6 separate regions of the Homo sapiens genome follow, and regions 2, 3, 4, 5 and 6 are each linked to region 1. Evidence: promoter capture Hi-C in 16 types of primary human blood cells and fetal thymus (Javierre and others, 2016). All regions are on one chromosome and are shown on one strand. Each heading gives the region's core, a stretch centred on a gene start or on the middle of the fragment in contact. The rest is flanking DNA. Distances are from core to core; before and after follow the strand shown.

The links. Contacts are between HindIII fragments. The CHiCAGO score rates a contact against its expected background, and 5 or more counts as called.
Region 2: a contact is called between a fragment that was not itself captured here and the fragment with the promoter of MACC1 in region 1, in 1 of 17 cell types (monocytes). The highest score is 5.4, in monocytes.
Region 3: a contact is called between a fragment that was not itself captured here and the fragment with the promoter of MACC1 in region 1, in 3 of 17 cell types (M1 macrophages, M2 macrophages and monocytes). The highest score is 8.2, in M1 macrophages.
Region 4: a fragment that was not itself captured here is called in contact with the fragment with the promoter of MACC1 in region 1 in 1 of 17 cell types (monocytes); the score reaches 5.3 in monocytes.
Region 5: a fragment that was not itself captured here is called in contact with the fragment with the promoter of MACC1 in region 1 in 2 of 17 cell types (M2 macrophages and M1 macrophages); the score reaches 6.4 in M2 macrophages.
Region 6: a fragment that was not itself captured here is called in contact with the fragment with the promoter of MACC1 in region 1 in 5 of 17 cell types (M0 macrophages, M1 macrophages, monocytes and 2 more); the score reaches 7.3 in M0 macrophages.

What each region holds. Positions count from the first base shown.
Region 1 is chr7:20,215,987-20,218,686 of GRCh38, reverse strand. MACC1 (MET transcriptional regulator MACC1) reads left to right here and starts at 1,303. Exons shown (of 7, transcript NM_182762.4): 1 at 1,303-1,388. GIRGL (glutamine insufficiency regulator of glutaminase lncRNA) reads right to left here and starts at 1,110. Exons shown (of 4, transcript NR_134569.1): 1 at 1,065-1,110; 2 at 324-431. RefSeq lists an enhancer at 279-1,478. The HindIII fragment of the contact is 5,395 bases long and covers 1-1,369 here.
Region 2 is chr7:20,419,925-20,422,864 of GRCh38, reverse strand. No RefSeq gene overlaps it. Among named protein-coding and RNA genes, the nearest start is that of ITGB8-AS1, 90 kb to the right of the region's middle. The HindIII fragment of the contact is 1,116 bases long and covers 961-2,076 here.
Region 3 is chr7:20,447,646-20,450,345 of GRCh38, reverse strand. No RefSeq gene overlaps it. Among named protein-coding and RNA genes, the nearest start is that of ITGB8-AS1, 120 kb to the right of the region's middle. The HindIII fragment of the contact is 5,138 bases long and covers 1-2,700 here.
Region 4 is chr7:20,394,202-20,397,129 of GRCh38, reverse strand. ITGB8 (integrin subunit beta 8) reads right to left here. Exons shown (of 14, transcript NM_002214.3): 8 at 2,145-2,234. Among named protein-coding and RNA genes, the nearest start is that of ITGB8-AS1, 64 kb to the right of the region's middle. RefSeq lists an enhancer at 954-2,153. The HindIII fragment of the contact is 5,095 bases long and covers 1-2,928 here.
Region 5 is chr7:19,978,439-19,981,143 of GRCh38, reverse strand. All of the region lies in intron 3 of MACC1-OT1 (MACC1 3' UTR overlapping transcript 1), which reads left to right. Among named protein-coding and RNA genes, the nearest start is that of MACC1-OT1, 160 kb to the left of the region's middle. The HindIII fragment of the contact is 6,365 bases long and covers 1-2,705 here.
Region 6 is chr7:20,019,459-20,022,158 of GRCh38, reverse strand. All of the region lies in intron 3 of MACC1-OT1 (MACC1 3' UTR overlapping transcript 1), which reads left to right. Among named protein-coding and RNA genes, the nearest start is that of MACC1-OT1, 120 kb to the left of the region's middle. RefSeq lists an enhancer at 2,136-2,225. The HindIII fragment of the contact is 1,159 bases long and covers 863-2,021 here.

The DNA.
Region 1 (2,700 bases), core at 54-2,553:
GGAGAAATGCCATGCAGAATGCCCTCTGTAGGGTTTGGGGAAATTAAGAACCATTTGTTTTGGAAATAATATAATGACATAAAGGAAAGCTAGGTTCTAGTAGAGAGTTGAGGAACCTGTGACAAAAAGAAACAGAACAGCTCAGTTTGGATTGTGGGATGAGTCAAGGGGAAACTTCAAAGGGAATCTGGGTGGATTAGGTGATCTGGCAGCATGAAGCCAGGGATGCATCAGGGAGGAAGGGGTGGTTAGAACAGTAGGAGAGAAAGTGCAGAAAAGGGAAAGGAAACTTTTTCTTTGTCACCATTCTGCCATCTACTTACATTAGATGAATCCTTCTATTATGTTTCTGAACCCAGACCCAGCCAGGACTTGTCTCTATTCATTTTCTGGGCTGTGTCTAACAGGAGATAATAGGCTAGAGAGAGATGCTGTATGAACAAATAGAGAAACACATTTGTTTTAAACATTCTCTGTTGCTGATGTTGGAAAAAAATGTGAAACAATTATTGCACATTTCATTTCACTAAGTTTTACCTTTTTTCCCCTTTCCCCTAATTTTCTCTTTCTTGAATTTTGAACAAAATACACAGAAGGAAAACACAAAACACAGAAATGGAAAGTAAAATGGAAGAAAATATCAAGAAAACTTTATTCTTGCTTATATTTTAAAAGGCACATTTTAAAGTGTTATCTTAAAAATCCAGAGCATTTTAGAAGATGAAATGCCAAAAGGTCTCCATTATGTCTATATGTCTATGTCTTTGAGTGACAATCACAGTGCTGATGTAGAGGGAAAGGGGGAACTAGTTAGACACTGTCACTCACCTGGGAAGGCTTTATTCACCTGTTCCACAGGGCAGTGAGGCACCTTCAGCTCTGAATCACCGAAAGAGAATCTGGTGGGGCAAGTTCCAGCTGCATGAGGATTTGCTTGCATAAATATTTTTTACTTATTGCTAACACTGAGGGTGCCTTCTTACTCCCTGGCAAACATTAAACCACTTTTATTTCCTTTCATGGAAATAAGATTATATTTACAGATGGTTCTTAGATATACTCACCTGATTTTTTTTTAATTGCTTTTCCACCTGCTTCCCCTTTCTTCTTAGGGTGAAACTCTAGCCATACGCCCTCTTCTGGTTTCGGGTGAGGAGCCTGAATTGTGGGTATCGTAGTTCTCTTGCCTTTTGGGGTTTCTAGTTGGGCAGCTTTGGAGCCACAGTGGTAGAACTTCAAGTCCCAGGTGGCTCAGGAAGCAGGGGTGCAGTTGCCTGCCTGCATACGGAGCAAGGCATGTTTGAAGAGTACCCGGGTTTGGTAGAGTGACTTCTATTCACTAAAACCATGTGTCTGAACTGAAGAAGCTTGGGCTCACTTCCACAAATGTAAGTGCTGATTTTTTAAAAATAATATTCCTTTCACTATTGATATGTGCTACACACTAGGAAGTTGTATAATTTCCAGAAAAATGTAACAAACCAGCTGCTTAACAAATCAAGCCCTGCTTAAATAAAGGGAAGGTAACTGGTATTCTGTGGGCTTATGGGACATGTGTTAGAATAAACCTCATGACATAGAATAGAATAATACCTTGAGACATGGTTTAGAATAAAGTAGTTTATTTTAAAAAAAAGGAGGAACCCAGGTCACATTAACCATCAAAGGCAAAAACAAAACACTCTATGAGTTGCTTAAAATATGTAGATGGCTGAAATCCCCTAAAAACTTTAAATATCTCAAAAAGCATACAGGTATGTTAAAAAGACTGTGCTTTGAAGATAGATAAAGTTGCAATCAGCAGCCCCACTGCTTATTAGATTTATGACCATTGACAAGATGTTTCACCTCGCAAAGTCTCAGTTTCCTCATCTGTAAAGTGTGTGTGCATAACCTACCTCATTAGGTTAATAGCATTAAATTATGAATAAAAGATAATCATGTAATTAAGTTAAGGGGGTCATTAAATTAGCACAGTGCATTGTACTGAATAGACAGATGATACATGATGGAGGGTAACTTGGCTTCATCCTAATTAAGTTTCAATTAAGCTTGGAAAACACACCAAAGAAACAAAAAGACAAATACTGGATGATTCAACTTACCTGAGGTATCTGGAGTAGTCAAACTCACATAAATGATACTTAGAATGGTAGTTGCCAGGGGCTTGGGGGAAGGAGAAATGAGAGTTGTTTAATGGATATAGAGTTTCAGTTTACAAGATGAAAACACTTGGAGACTGTACAATAATGTAAATATATTTAATACTATTGAACTTAAAATTTGTAAGTGTAAACACTTACAAATGGTTAGGATGGTAAATTGTATGTTAAGTTTTTTACCACAATTAATAAAGATAGATTTTAAAAAATTTATTTTTAAGATCAAAAAGCATGTAGTGAAAATTCCAATGCCTTCCATTTATTAAAGGTCTTCCTAATTTCCTAAAAATGTCTTAAGTCTATATTCAGTGGGTCTAATTTAGGATTGATATTGACTTATCTATGTTAATGTCTGGTTTTTACATAGCAATTACTGGGTGATAATGATGAATTTCAGGTATATTCTTAAAGTTGTCTTAACCTCAGTGGTGATTCTTTTATGCCCCCCTGAACTTAATTACATGATTATCTTTTATTCATAATAGCGATTTTTAATATGATTTCATGGGTAGTGTACAGAATCTAGAAATTATGAAGT
Region 2 (2,940 bases), core at 269-2,768, 200 kb before region 1:
GGTCTCCCAAAGTGCTGGGATTACAGGCATGAGCTATTGTGCCCAGCCAGTAATCTACTTTTTTCTAAAAAAAAAAAAAAAAGGTAATCTACTTTATGCAAAGTAATCTCATAAATTTCAAATGTATCAAAATATAAATTCTTACTTTAAGAAAACATGTTAAACAGCTTAATTGAAAATATTTTATAGACATTTTTGGTTCTTTTCAGATTCTTTGGTCGGGGGAGAGGGAGTTGTTAGTTATATCCAAAATCATTCCTGAAAAGAGTCTGATATTATTGATTTGCTATTTGAAAGGAAAGAAAATGGTACTTATATATTCTGTTTCAAATTAAACTCTAACCTGTGGAGTGAGAATAGACACTTAATTAGAGTTAGAATGGACATACCAAAACTAGTACTAGACATTTATTCCCTTTAGTTTTCCTGGGAGGAGATAGGACCCAGGCCACAGTCTTATGTGTTATTAGCAATAATCTACGATGAAGACTTTCTGGCACAAGCCAAGCATCAGACTTCTCTGTCTCTTAAAAGTAAGGAACACGTTTCAAAGCTCCTCATGGTTCCCTTGAAGCCCCACCAAGCAGAAGGTTAGGTGGAACATCTTCAGACTGTCCCCAAAGAGAAGTGGAGTGGAGGCTCACAGCAGAGAGGTCTCAAAAAATGTTTAAACGATCTTCCTCTCCTCCTATCTCTTCCCTCTTTATATCCTCCATGGCTTGAGGGGTCCAGAATTCTATAGCAGGTTCTCAGTACCATTTCCTTTGAAAATCTGAAACTGTGGGAGGGAGGGCACACCTCACCTTGATATCTTAGCATAACAATTAGTAGGTGCCCCAGTTGAAAGTGATGTAGGTGGAGGCCCATTCTAGCATCCCATGCCCTTGGTGCCCACCTGATCACTGGATCTGGCAGGGATTAAAAGTAAATTTTCATGACAAATTTCTACCCTGGTAAGCTTTCTCAGGCCTGTTAAATGCCCCACCAAAAATACATAAGAAATTGTGTTTTCTTGAAAAAAGAAAACGTTTTGGGAAACTGTAAACAAAATATTTATTCCTTGCTAACTAATATTCTAAACAGAGACCAAGCAAGTTAACAAATGAATATGGTATTGAAATAAATAAACAAAGGAGGAATTTTAATTTCCAGCGAGTATTATTCTATTATCCCTGGTAAAACCTAATAATCTTCAGGAAGAACAGAAAACACCTACTGCTTAATATCTGTGGCTTATTTAATGAACAGTTCTTAGAAGAGCACTGTGATCATAGTCTGTAAATCTTTTCTCAGTCACATTCTTTGAGGTGAGGTCCTGGAGCTAACTTTATAGCACCCTCTTACTAGTAGGCCCACCTGGACTGCTGTCTGAAATGAGAGCTAGTTACTCTCTGTAGGTAAAATAGTAAACATTTGTAAGAGAAGATGGAACCCTTCATCAAAACAATTTATATCCTAAATTATGCTTTGGCCTATTTCCATTTAGTATGTTACTAGAAAAATGGAACAGATACAGACATCATAGCTCACAGAAGCCTAACGTAATAGGTGCCTAGATACTTATCGTCTAGTTGGAGTATCATGGAAAATTATGTTAGACAAAATTAAACTTTCTAGATTTAGACTTTCCATTAATCCAAGTCCCCTCTGACTCCTCCCCACAATTATTGACTGATGATCTCTCATCTTTTGTCCTGGCTTTATTTTTCCAATAATGAGACACATATATTTTTTTCCCCTGATGTTTCACTTATTCTTTGGGTCCGACTGACCCTTACACGTATGTCTCTATGTTTTGTTTCCCTTTTGCTAGTCATTGGCACTCAGAGGGTCATTTTCCCTTTTCCAAGCCCTCATTAAAGCAGACTTACTACCAGAATAAGAGCAAAATTAGTGAAATAGAGACAATTTGGATGCGTGCTTGTAGAAATATATATATATGTGTGTATAAATGTATATATTTATATATATATATATATATATATATATATTTTTTTTTTTTTTTTTTCCTGAGACAGAATCTCACTGTGTCAGTCAGGCTGAAGTACAGCAGAGTGATCATAGCCCACCGAAGCTTTGATCCCCTAGGCTCAAGTGATCCTCCTGCCTTAGCCTACCAAGTGGCTGGGATTACAGGCATTTGACACTAGGCCTGGCTAATTAAAAGAATTTTTTTTTTTTTTTTTGTAAGAGACAGTCTTGCTATGTTTCCTAGAACATTTTCTTCCCCTCAAGATCAGATAAAGTTTTGTCTGGGGTCAGCATAATCTGTACCTTTTTGGTCATCTGATGTTAGTTTTCACTCTTTGCAAGTGGTTCTCAGGCATCAGTGGGCATTAGGGTCACTTAAAGAGCATGTTAAAACACACTGCTGGTTTCTAATAAGCTTCCGGGTTGGGAGGGGGGAAGAACATCGCTGGGCCACAGTCCCAGAGTTTCTGATTCAGAAGGTCTTGATGGAGACCAAAAAATCTGCGTTTCTACAAACTTCTAGGTGATGGTGATGCTCTTGGACTGGGAACTACCCTTTGAAACTGTGAATTTATAGATTATCTTGTATTTAATGGGAAAAATGTTAATGGTAAATTAAGATTTTTTAAGTGAATAATTATCTCTCTTGACTTTAATGATGGTAGAATGAATTTCGTAATCATGACAAAGTAAAACAGCAAGAGCATGCCAAAGCCCAATAAAGCAGGAGTTTCCCTCTCACCAGTCTAGTCTGAGTGACTAGGCCCTGAGTATGAAATAATGCACCAGCCCACATCAGTGCTAAAGGATTACCACGTTGAAAGACAAGATATCACTTGTTTTTCTTGTACAGACCACAACTGCTTCTAATTATGATGAAAAAGTTCATATATAAATAATTACATCGAAAGTGATATTATCTTTCAATTAGGTTTATTTTGATAATATTTGAAAGCATGATCATTGACA
Region 3 (2,700 bases), core at 157-2,656, 230 kb before region 1:
CTTAAAGCAGTGCAGGTGATATCTAATTTTTAGTTAATGCCATCTTGAGTTTGAAATAAATGGATTTTGTTGGAAAGCACTTCTGAATGAGGTTCTGTGTCAGATTTCTTTCTCCCTGCCCCTGATTTTTGGAAAAAAATCTCAGACAACACAAGCTATCTGTATCAAAATATTACAGGTTTATCCTGATTCAGCAGGTCTGGAGAGGGATCTGAAATGCCACATTATTAACAAATCCATTGCCACTCTTCCATGGAAAGTATATTGAATAACAAGATTAGCATTTCACATACTTCTCTGATGATAAGAATCACCTGGGCCTCAAACTTTTAAAAATACTCTCAGCTCCCACCGGGCACGGTGGCTCGTACCTGTAATCCCAGCACTTTGGGAGGCCGAGGCGGGCGGATCACGAGGTCAGGAGATTGAGACCATCCTGGCTAACACGGTGAAACCACATCTCTACTAAAAATACAAATAATTAGCCGGGTAAGGTGGCGGGCGCCTGCAGTCCAGCTACTCAGGAGGCTGAGGCAGGAGAATGGCGTGAACCCGGGAGGTGGAGCTTGCAGTGAGCGGAGATCGCGCCACTGCACTCCAGCCTAGGTGACAGAGCGAGACTCCATCTCAAAAAAACAAAACAAAACAAAACAAAACTCTCAGCTCACATCCCTAAAGCTCCTAATTATGTGGGCTGGGGATGGCCTGAGCTTTTTAAAGCAAGTAACCCAGGTGATTCTTTTCATCAGGAAATTTTGGATATGCTGTTATAGACCAAATCTAGCTCTGATTTACTATTGGCAGTAGGACTTCAACATTAAACAAACAAAAACCACAAAGAGATGCTTATAACTAGGGATGAAACTCATGTGACTGGGGCTTAAGAAACTGTTAGTTTCATGAAGGCAGGGAAAAAAGTTGTTTTGTTCATTGTGATATCCGAGGGACTTAGTGCAGTGTCTGACAAAGTGAGTACTGATATCATATTTTCCTGTTTCCTTTCTCTAGGATCCCCACAATCTAGCCCTGTATTAGTCAGAACTCGTGTGATTTCAAATGACAAAAACTCGTCTTATGCCAGCTTAAGCCAAACTAGGGAATTTTTTTTTGGAGGGGGAGGGTGGTTAGCAAAACAGAACAGTATAGGGTTGATCTGATTCTAGGCATAGTTGGATTCAGATGTTCAAACAATATTAATCAGTACTGTTTCCTTCTTTTCTTCCTCCTTGCCTCTCCTACCTTTCCCATTTCTTCCCCTTTTCTCTCTCCCTTTCTCTCGATCTCTTTCTTCCTCTCTCTTTGCTTGCTTTCTCTCTGTTTCTTTTCCTTTTCCTTTGCTTTTCTCTCCTTTCTTTCCCTCTTTCTTTCTTTCTTTTCTTCCCTTTTATCTATTTTTTCTTGTTTTTCACCTTTGATTTCCTCTGTATTTTCAGTAGGCTTTCTCTATATAGGAAAAAATGTCCAGGGGCATCTCCAGGTCTACATGGTACTTGAATCTTAAATCTCAAGGGAAAAGAGAGTCTCTTTTCTGACAGTGCCAACAAAATTCTGGAGCAGAACCTACATGACCTCTTCCTATGTGTGTATATGTTTGCAGAAGGGAGTACTTTGATTATTTAAGCCTGGGATTAATTCTATCCAAATCATATGGATTGAGGAAGATTGAATGGAAAGGGAGGGGGACAGGTCATTCAAAGCTGGGGAGGTGGTATTGTGCAGACAAACATATGTCCAACATAGGCTCAAATCTACATTTCCAGCCTCATCGTTTGGCCTATTACTTGATGAAGTGATGACCTGCCCTGAGAGAGTTGCTGATCTGTGACTATTTTACATCTTCCCAATTCTATCCCTGCCCAATGTATTCTTTTGGTTTAAGGCTTGTCCCTCCACCCCTGCCAACCCCTGCCAATTTTTTGTAATCATTCATATTATTGTTTTGTTCAAATGATCTTTCTCTCCAAAGACCTCTTTTTAATAGATTGTGGCAAAAAGCCCGCATAACATAAAAATTTGCCATCTTAAGCATTTTGAAGTGTATATAGTTCAGTAGTGCTAAGTATATTCACACTACTGTGCAACTAATCTCCAAAACATTTTTGTCTTTCAAAATGGAAACTCATTAAACAGATCTCCAATTACCCCTCCCAACATTCCCTGCCAATCATCATTCCACTTTCTATTTTTATGAATTTATCTACTCTAGATATATAAGTGGAATCACACAGGGTTTGGGGTCTTATGATGGTTTATTTCACTTAGCATATGTTTTCCAGGTGCATCCATGTTGTAGCATGTGGCAGAATGTCCTTCCTTTTTACAGTAGAATAATATTCCATTGTGTGTGTTTTCCACCCTTTGTTCATCCATTCAGCTGTTGATGGATGCTTGGGTTGTTTCCACTTCTTGGCTAGTTGAATAGTTTTGCTGTGAAATAGGTGTTCATGAATTCTTCTTTAATTCCTCCTCCTTCTTCTGTCTCCTCCAAGGAATTAACTTCTCTTGCTTTTGTGAGAATGCTGGCTTTTCTCATGCCACCATCTCACTCCACCCATCACACTCTGCACTCCATGGCATGCTTTTAAGGTGAGGCATGTATGGGATATGAGCACCATTTGTTTTACATTTGACATATGCATTCACATTTGTTCTATGGATGGCCAACTAGTTGTAAGATACTAGAAAATAATACTACCAAAA
Region 4 (2,928 bases), core at 201-2,700, 180 kb before region 1:
TCCAACCCCAGACATAATCTTGAGCTTCCCTTTTAGTATCTAATAGGTACAGAGGCAGATTCTATATAATTCTTCAATGGATTGTGAATTGATTCTGTTGGACTGTGAAGACAAAATGAAAGTTTAGAAGATTTTTGATAATATAAACATATATAAAATAATAACAGAATTCCAACTTAAGGAGAGTAGTTAGCCCCAGTAAGTTTTTGTTGGATTTAATATTATTTTTCCACTGTTTACGGTTGATGAGAACTACACTGGACTAAGGCATTGCATACCTATGCTAGGCAAAATAACCAAATGTTGCTGTCTCCTTTGCCACTGGGGCAGTCTGACACACAGGTAAAAATCTGTAAATTTATATACTTTTTTTGGAGTAATAAATGGGTTCATACTAAAGAATTTAGAGTGGTTTCTTACAGCATAAGCTCTTGTCTTATTTTGATTATTCTTGGGAACAGACTACTGATGGGAATGAATTGTAGACACATTTGATTTTCTGTGATAAGTCCCTCTTCAGTCTCACTGTTCTTTTTTGTAACAGTGAGAAAGATGTAATTTAAGACGCTCTTCCTTATTTTACTCAACGTACTTTTCAGACATAGAAAACTATCCTCAGTGAAAACAAATCAAGCAAGATTTATTTTCCTTTTAGAAGATGAAAGTTTAAACAAGTTCTTAATTTTTTTTTTTTTTTGAGATGGAGTCTTGCTCTGTCGCCCAGGCTGGAGTGCAGTGGCGCAATCTCGGCTCATTGCAAGCTCCGCCTCCTGGGTTCAAGCCATTCTCCTGCCTCAGCCTCCCGAGTAGCTGGGACTACAGGCACCCGCCACCATGCCCTGCTAATTTTTTTTTAGTAGAGACAGGGTTTCACCGTGTTAGCCAGGATGGTGTCAATCTCCTGACCTCGTGATCCACCTGCCTCGGCCTCCCAAAGTGCTGGGATTACAGGCATGAACCACCGCGCCCGGCCTAAGTTCTTCATTTCATATATTGTGTCTACTTCCTGCCTTTCTCTTTTGTGCCCAAGCTAAAGGAAGGTGCTGTCTGGAGAAAACGAGAAGAGAAACGAGAGGTTTTTCCACAATGCTTTGGCTATAATTTAACTATTAAACTCTGCGTGTTAGGAAGGGAGTCAGAGAATTTGGGAAAGAGACTCTATAGTTGGCCCATAAATTCAAGGTAGCATAAAGCATATCTTTTGACACACTGTAAAACAATGAAAAACAGGTGGTATCGCAGAGGAGGAAGCACCTGAGGCTTGAAGTAAAGGAACACCTGGATTCTGATCCCACTTTCTTCTGCTTATTAGTTGAACAACCTTTGATAAGTTTGTTTCACTTTCCTGAGTCTTGGTTTCTACTAATATACAATGTGGGTACTAACCACCTGCTTTATAGGTCAGGTGTGAGGACTGAATGAGGTCATGTATGTAAAGTGACTGGATCTTAGTGGTAAAAAAGTAGCAGTCACTATTTTCACAACATCTTAACAGAGGTGGTTCTATTCAGGAATGACGCAGGTTGAAAGAACAGATGTTTCTTTAAATTCTTTGCATTGAGGCATTCACTCTTCATAGGACTGATGACAGCATACAACCATCAACTCAAGAAAACAGAGTATCTACTAAGGTGATTCTTTTAATCAAACTCTTTTGATAAAAATGCTAAAATAATTGTTGAACAATCAAGTGGTTGATCATAGAGATCCCAACCGACTCCTCTTAATAATTGCTATATCCCAGATAGTTTAACTGCCCTGGCAGATTATTGCCTTACGTAACTGTGGACTTCTACTTTATCATTACGGCATAGGAAATGACGCAATTTCATGGTAATAATGTACATTCTATAGCTATGACTTGATGATTCACTGAGCACTGGATGTAGAAGGAAATTTAGATAGCCTCTAGCCCAATCTCTGTTGACTGTCAATGAGAAAAGTGAGGCACAGAAAGCAGAAATAACTTTCCCAAAGCAAAAAGCTAGTTAGTGGTAGGGCCAGGGATGAACTTCAGATTCCTAATTCCTAATCTAATATGCTTTCTACTCCTCCTCTCGAGATGACATGGCACTACTTTGTACCTTGTCACAGAAATTGAGGTAAAAATTTTATTTAAAAAATTGTATCTAATATATACATACCTGATAGGCTTCCACTACCAAATTATTGAGGTTTGCAGCCTTTGATTCTATTTCACCAGCAATGGTGCCTGGCAAGAGGGGTAGAAGATCCTATAAAACATATCAGTAGCATTTAAACAATGACAATAGTATGTAATGGGTTAGCAACCAACAAATAGTAAATATTTTTGTAGTTATCAGTTGAAGGTGAACCATTAAATGAATGAAAACCTATAAGACACAAGAAAAATATAAGCAACCTAGTAGAGCAGCCAGAACATATACCCATGTAGTGGTTGTGTGTGTCTGTACATGTGCATGACTGTGTGTGCATCCGGAATCACTGTACCTGATGACCTAAAAATCCAATCGAAATGCAGATGAGCATCTCCCAAATTTCTTCCATGGAATGTAAAGCCCAAGAGATTTTAAACATACAAAAGTTTTGAGGGCAAATGAGCTTGGGAAGTTCTGCATATGGTTTCTTCCACTTAGAAACATAAAATGCACATTTGCAAATTAAAAGTTTCAGAGTAGGCCTGCAATCTAGAAATGATTTAACATTATTTAATGCAGCATTTCCCAAAACTTCTTTAGTTAGGAAAAATCATAGTCACAAGTGGAAACTTCATGGGGTATGTGTTCTTGATGCATGCTGCTTATTATGGAGAAGACCGTAGGTATTTTTAGGGAGAATGAGCAAAGGCTTTAAAGGTCTGCATGAATCGAAGATGAAGCAAAAATAGAAAAAAGCCAATCTGACTAAAGGGCACGTACTTATAGGAAATCAGATGGTAAAAAGTTT
Region 5 (2,705 bases), core at 128-2,627, 240 kb after region 1:
CAGGCCGGTGTCTCTGATGAACATTGATGCAAAAATCCTCAACAAAATACTAGCAAACCAAATACAACAATGCATTAGAAAGATCATTTATTGTGACCAAGTGGGATTTATCCCTGGGAAGCAAGGAGAAACAACCTACACCAATCAATCAATGTATACATCATATCAACAGAATGAAGGATAAAAACAATATGATTATTTCAATTGATGCTGAAAAAACATTTGATAAAATACAACATCCCTTCATGATAAAAACCCTAAAAAACTGTTATAGAAGGAGCGTACCTCAAAATAATAAAAGCCATATATGACAGACCCACAGATAGTATCATACTGAATGGGAAAAAACTGAAAGCCTTTTTTCGAAGATAAGGAACATGATAAGGATGCCTACTGTCACCACTATTATTCAACATAGTACTTGAGGTCCTAGCTAGAGCAATCAGACAAGAGAAAGATATAAAAGGCATCCAAAATGGAAAGGAAGAAGTCAAATGACCCTTATTTGCAGATGATATGATCTTATATTTGGAAAATCCTAAAGACTCCACAGGAAACCTTTTAAAACTGATAAACAGGCCAGGTGCAGTGGCTCACGTCTGTAACGCCAGTACTTTGGGAGGCCTAGGTGGGTGGATCACCTGACGTCAGGAGTTCGAGACCAGCCTAGCTGACGTGGTGAAACCCGATCTCTACTAAAATACAAAAAGTAGCCAGGCATGGTGGCTTTTGCCTGTAATCCCAGCTACTCGGGAGGCTGAGGCAGGAGAATTGCTTGAACTCAGGAAGTGGAGGTTGCAGTGAGCCAAGATCATGCCACTGCACTCCAGCCTGGGTGACAGAGTGAGATTCCATCTCAAAACAAACCAAAAAACAAAAAAAGTGATGAATAGATTCAGTAAATGTGCATACACAAAATTAACATAAAAATCATTAGCATTTCAATATGACAACAATGAACAATCTGAAAAAGAAATACAAATATAATCCCATTTATAATAGCCATGCAAAAAATGAAACAATAATTATCTTAAAGAAATAAAAGATCTCTATAATGAAAAATATAAAACACTGATGAAAGAAATTGAAGAAGCCAACAAAATTTGAAAAAATATTCCATGTTCATGGATTGTAAGAATTAATATTGTTAAATATCCTTATTACCCAAAGCAATCCACAGATTCAGTGCAATCCCTATCAAAGTACTAATGACATTCTTCACAGAAATATTAAAAACAATTCTAAAATTTATATGGAAACACAAAAAGGCCCAGAAGAGCCAAAGCCATCCTAAGCAAAAAGAACAAAACTGGAGGAACTATATTAGCTGACTTCAAATTATAGTACAGAGCTATAGTAACCAAAAGGGCATGGTACAAGCATAAAAGCAGACACATACACCAATGGAACAGAATAGAGACCCCAGAAATAAATCCACACTGCCTACAGTGAACTCATTTTTGACAGAGGTGCCAAGAACATACACTGGGAAAAAGACAGTCTCTTCAATAAATTTTTCTGGGAAAACTGGACATCCATATGCAGAAGTATGAAACTAGAATCCTATCTCTCACCATATACAAAAATCAAATTAAAGTGAATTAAAGACTTAAATCTAAGATTTCAATCTATAAAACTGCTACAAGAAAATATTGGGAAAAATCTCCAGGACATTAGTCTGGGCAAAAATTTATTGAGCAATACCCAAAAAGTGCAGGCAACCAAAACAAAAAATGGGCAAATAGAATCACATCAAGCTAAAAAGATTCTGCACAGCAAAAGGTACAATCAACAAAATGAAGAGACAACCCATAGAATGGGAGAAAATATTTGCAAACTACCCATCTGACAAAAGATTAATAACCAGAATATATAAGAAGCTCGAAAAACTCTGTAGGAAAAAATCTAATAATTGGATCAAAAAATGGGCAAAATATTTGAATAGACATTTCTCAAAAGAAGACATACAAATGGCAAAGAAACATATGAAAAGGTATTCAGCACCACGGATCATCAGAGATATGCAAATCAAAACTATAATGAGCTATCATCTCACCCTAGTTAAAATAGATTATATCCAAAAAACAGGCAGTAACAAAGGCTGGCAAGGATGTGGAGAAAAGGGAACTATTGTACACTGTTGGTGGGAAGGTACATTAGTACAACCATTATGGAGAACAGTTTAGAGCTTCCTCAAGAAACTAAAAATTGAGCTACCATATAATCCAGCAATCTCACTGCTGGGTATATACCCAAAAGAAAAGAAATCAGTATATTGAAGAGATATCTGCACTCCTATGTTTGTTGCAGCACTGTTTGCAATAGCTAATAAGAGGAAGTAACCTAAGTTTCCATAAAAAGATAAATGGATAAAGAAAATGTGGTACATATATACAATGGAGTACCATTCAGTCATAAAAATGAATGAGACCTAGTCATTTGCAACAGCATAGATGGAACTGTGGATCATTATGTTAAGTGAAACAAGCCATGTACAGAAAGAAAAACACTTCATTTTATCATTCATTTATGGGAGCTAAAAACCAAAACAGTTGAACTCATGAACATACAGAGTAGAACGGTTACCAGGGGCTGAGAAGGGTAATTAGGAGTTATTAATAGTAGGGAAGTGGGGATGGTTAATGGATACAATACAAAATATAGTTAGAAACAATGGAATAATACCTACTATTTGATAGCACAAT
Region 6 (2,700 bases), core at 193-2,692, 200 kb after region 1:
AAGTGATCAGGACCAAGGAATGTAGCTTAGTTGTGTCCCCAAGTTCTTTCTGCCTGGCTCTTTAACTGCATTGCTCACATTATGTCATAATTTTTTGTATTTGTTGAAAGCTACTTTCTGAGGCTTAGCTCTAATAAGTCAGTGGTTCTAAACTGACCACAAAATTAATTCTAAGTCTTTTACCCTTAAGTTGCCCTGGTTCCTGTTTCAGTCTGTTGCACAGCTACTGTTTACTAGGACTGGGTTTCTCAACTTCCTTGGCACTATTGACATTTTGAGCTGCATTATTATTTATTGCAGGAGATTGTCCTGCACGTTGTAGGATGTTTGGCAGCATCCCTGGCCTCTATCCACCAATCCACTAGCTGACAGTAGCACTCTCCTCCACTCCTGTACTTGTGATAACAAAACTGTTTCTATACATTGTCATATATCCCCTGGGGGACAAAATTACCCTCAGTTGAGAAAAAAACTTGTTCTAGGATTTTATTGCCATATTTTTTGGAATTCATATCATGTCTTTATTTTGAAATATTTTTAATGGATCCTTTCTTGCTTGGGTCACCTGTTTTGCTCTTCCTTAGTGAATCACCTTATTTTAGTCAATTATATCCTCCTCTAGCTTCCTGAGAGAGACTGTGTGAGTGGTAAAATTATTGAAAAGTTGCATGCCTTCATTTGAACTGCTGTGTCTGATTAAAAAAATAGTTTGGCTGGGTATACAAGTCTTAGTTGGAAATCACTTTCTCTCAGAATTTTGAAGATATCACACCATTATTGTCTAGCTTCTAACATTTCTATTGAGGGTCTGATGTAATTTTGATTTCTGAATGTGGACTCTTCTGACTTCTCTTCAGAAGCTTCTAGGACTTCACTTTGTAATCAGTGTTCTGAAATTTCTCAGTGAGGTAGTTTTCCATGGGTCTTGTGTAACCATTGTATTGAACTCTTGATGATCCCTCTCAATGTGAAACTTCAAATCTTTCAGCCTGAAACATTTTTAAACATTTTCTTTATTTTTTTCTTCTCCATCTTCTCTCTTCTTTCTTTCTGTAATTCTAAGTGTTCAGTGTTTTAAGTCCTAGAATAATATTCTAATGTTTTCTATTTTTTTCTTTGTGAGAGATTTTTTCAACTTGTTTTTTACTTTTCTTATTGAACTTTATTTTACCATGATAATAATTGTATTTCCCAAGATTTTTGGGTTCTATTCATGACATTAAAACAAATTACCCCATGTTCTCATTTTATGAGTACAATAACTCTCAGCTCTCTGAAGTTCCAACATTTTTTATGAGAAAATTTAAAAATTCTTTTGCTTCTTTGATGAGTTTCTCCCCCTGCCACCCTTTGTTTACTTAAGTCTTCACCCTTTATGTTAGAGGCTTGCTTCAGTCCTCTAAATGAAGGCTTTCTTCTATGTCTGGCTATATGAGACTTTCCATTCAGATTTAAGACAGAGACAATAAAAATCTGATTTCAAGGTATGTGTGGCTGTGTGGGCCCTGTCTACTGGTGGGATTTACTCTATGATGCTTAATTTGGTTTTATCAGGAGATCTGCCTTTCCCAGTGTCTGCTGTTCTCCTATTCTCCTGGTACATTTCCGCAAGCAAAGAATACTCATTTATTAGCCAACTATTGATAGGCTGATACATCTTATGTAGCATTTTTAGATCCAGCTGGGGAAAGGTGACTGGGCTTCAATGATTGGTTAATGAATATCCTTTTTTTCCATGTGGTACCCTTTCCGTTAGCAATGTGCAGTGTCCCTGATTCCATGACATGGGGAGAGAGGCAGTGACCTGACAGAAAAGGGTTGGGAAAGTAATCTGTGGAATCTTGTACCTTCTTCTATAGCTAATCGATTCTCTTAATTTTCACACCACCCATTACCCTCTGTTGCAGAGGTACCTGGCTGCTGCCTTCAATGACTAAGCCTCAGTTAGCATTTTTCTGTGAAAAAAATGTCAGTTGCTTTCCTTACTGATAGTGTAGTTTTCAGCTTTGAGGTACTAAGCTTCTTACCTCAGTGATAGCTTGAATAATGTGCCCCAAAGATATCTAAGATCTATTTCATGGAACCTGAGAGAGTTACTTTACATGGCAAAAGGGGGCCTTGCATATGTAATTCAGTTAAGTATCTTCAGAGAGGGGGATTTTCCAGGTGTTTCCTAAATATAATCATGAGAGGAGGGTGGACAGAGATTTGACCACAAAAGAGGAAGAAGGTGATATGATGATGGAAACAGAGAATTGAAGATACTTTGCTGCTAGCTTTGAAGGTGGAGGAAGGGGTGATGAGCCAAGAAATGCAAGGAATGCAGCTCTAGAATTTGGAAAAGGCAGGGAAAGAGATTCCATCATAGAGCTTCCTGAGGAAGTGTACCCCTGCTAGCACTTTGGTTTAATCTATTGAAACCCTTTGAGCTTCTGATATCCAGAACTGTAAGAAAATAAATGTGCGCTGTTTTAAGTCACCAAATTTGAGGTATTGTTTAAAGTAGCCATAGTAAATTGATACACCTGCTTTCTAGTTTCCCAAACTCTGTTGTAGTACTGTCTTCTCACGTTGGCTTTATCCTTGTGCATTTATGTTTTTCAATCATCTTTCTTGTCTTTTTTGTAGAATTTAAGGCAGAATAACTAACTTTTTAAAAATTTTCTGTGTATTTTTGTTTAATTTTCTTTGTTTTTTTAA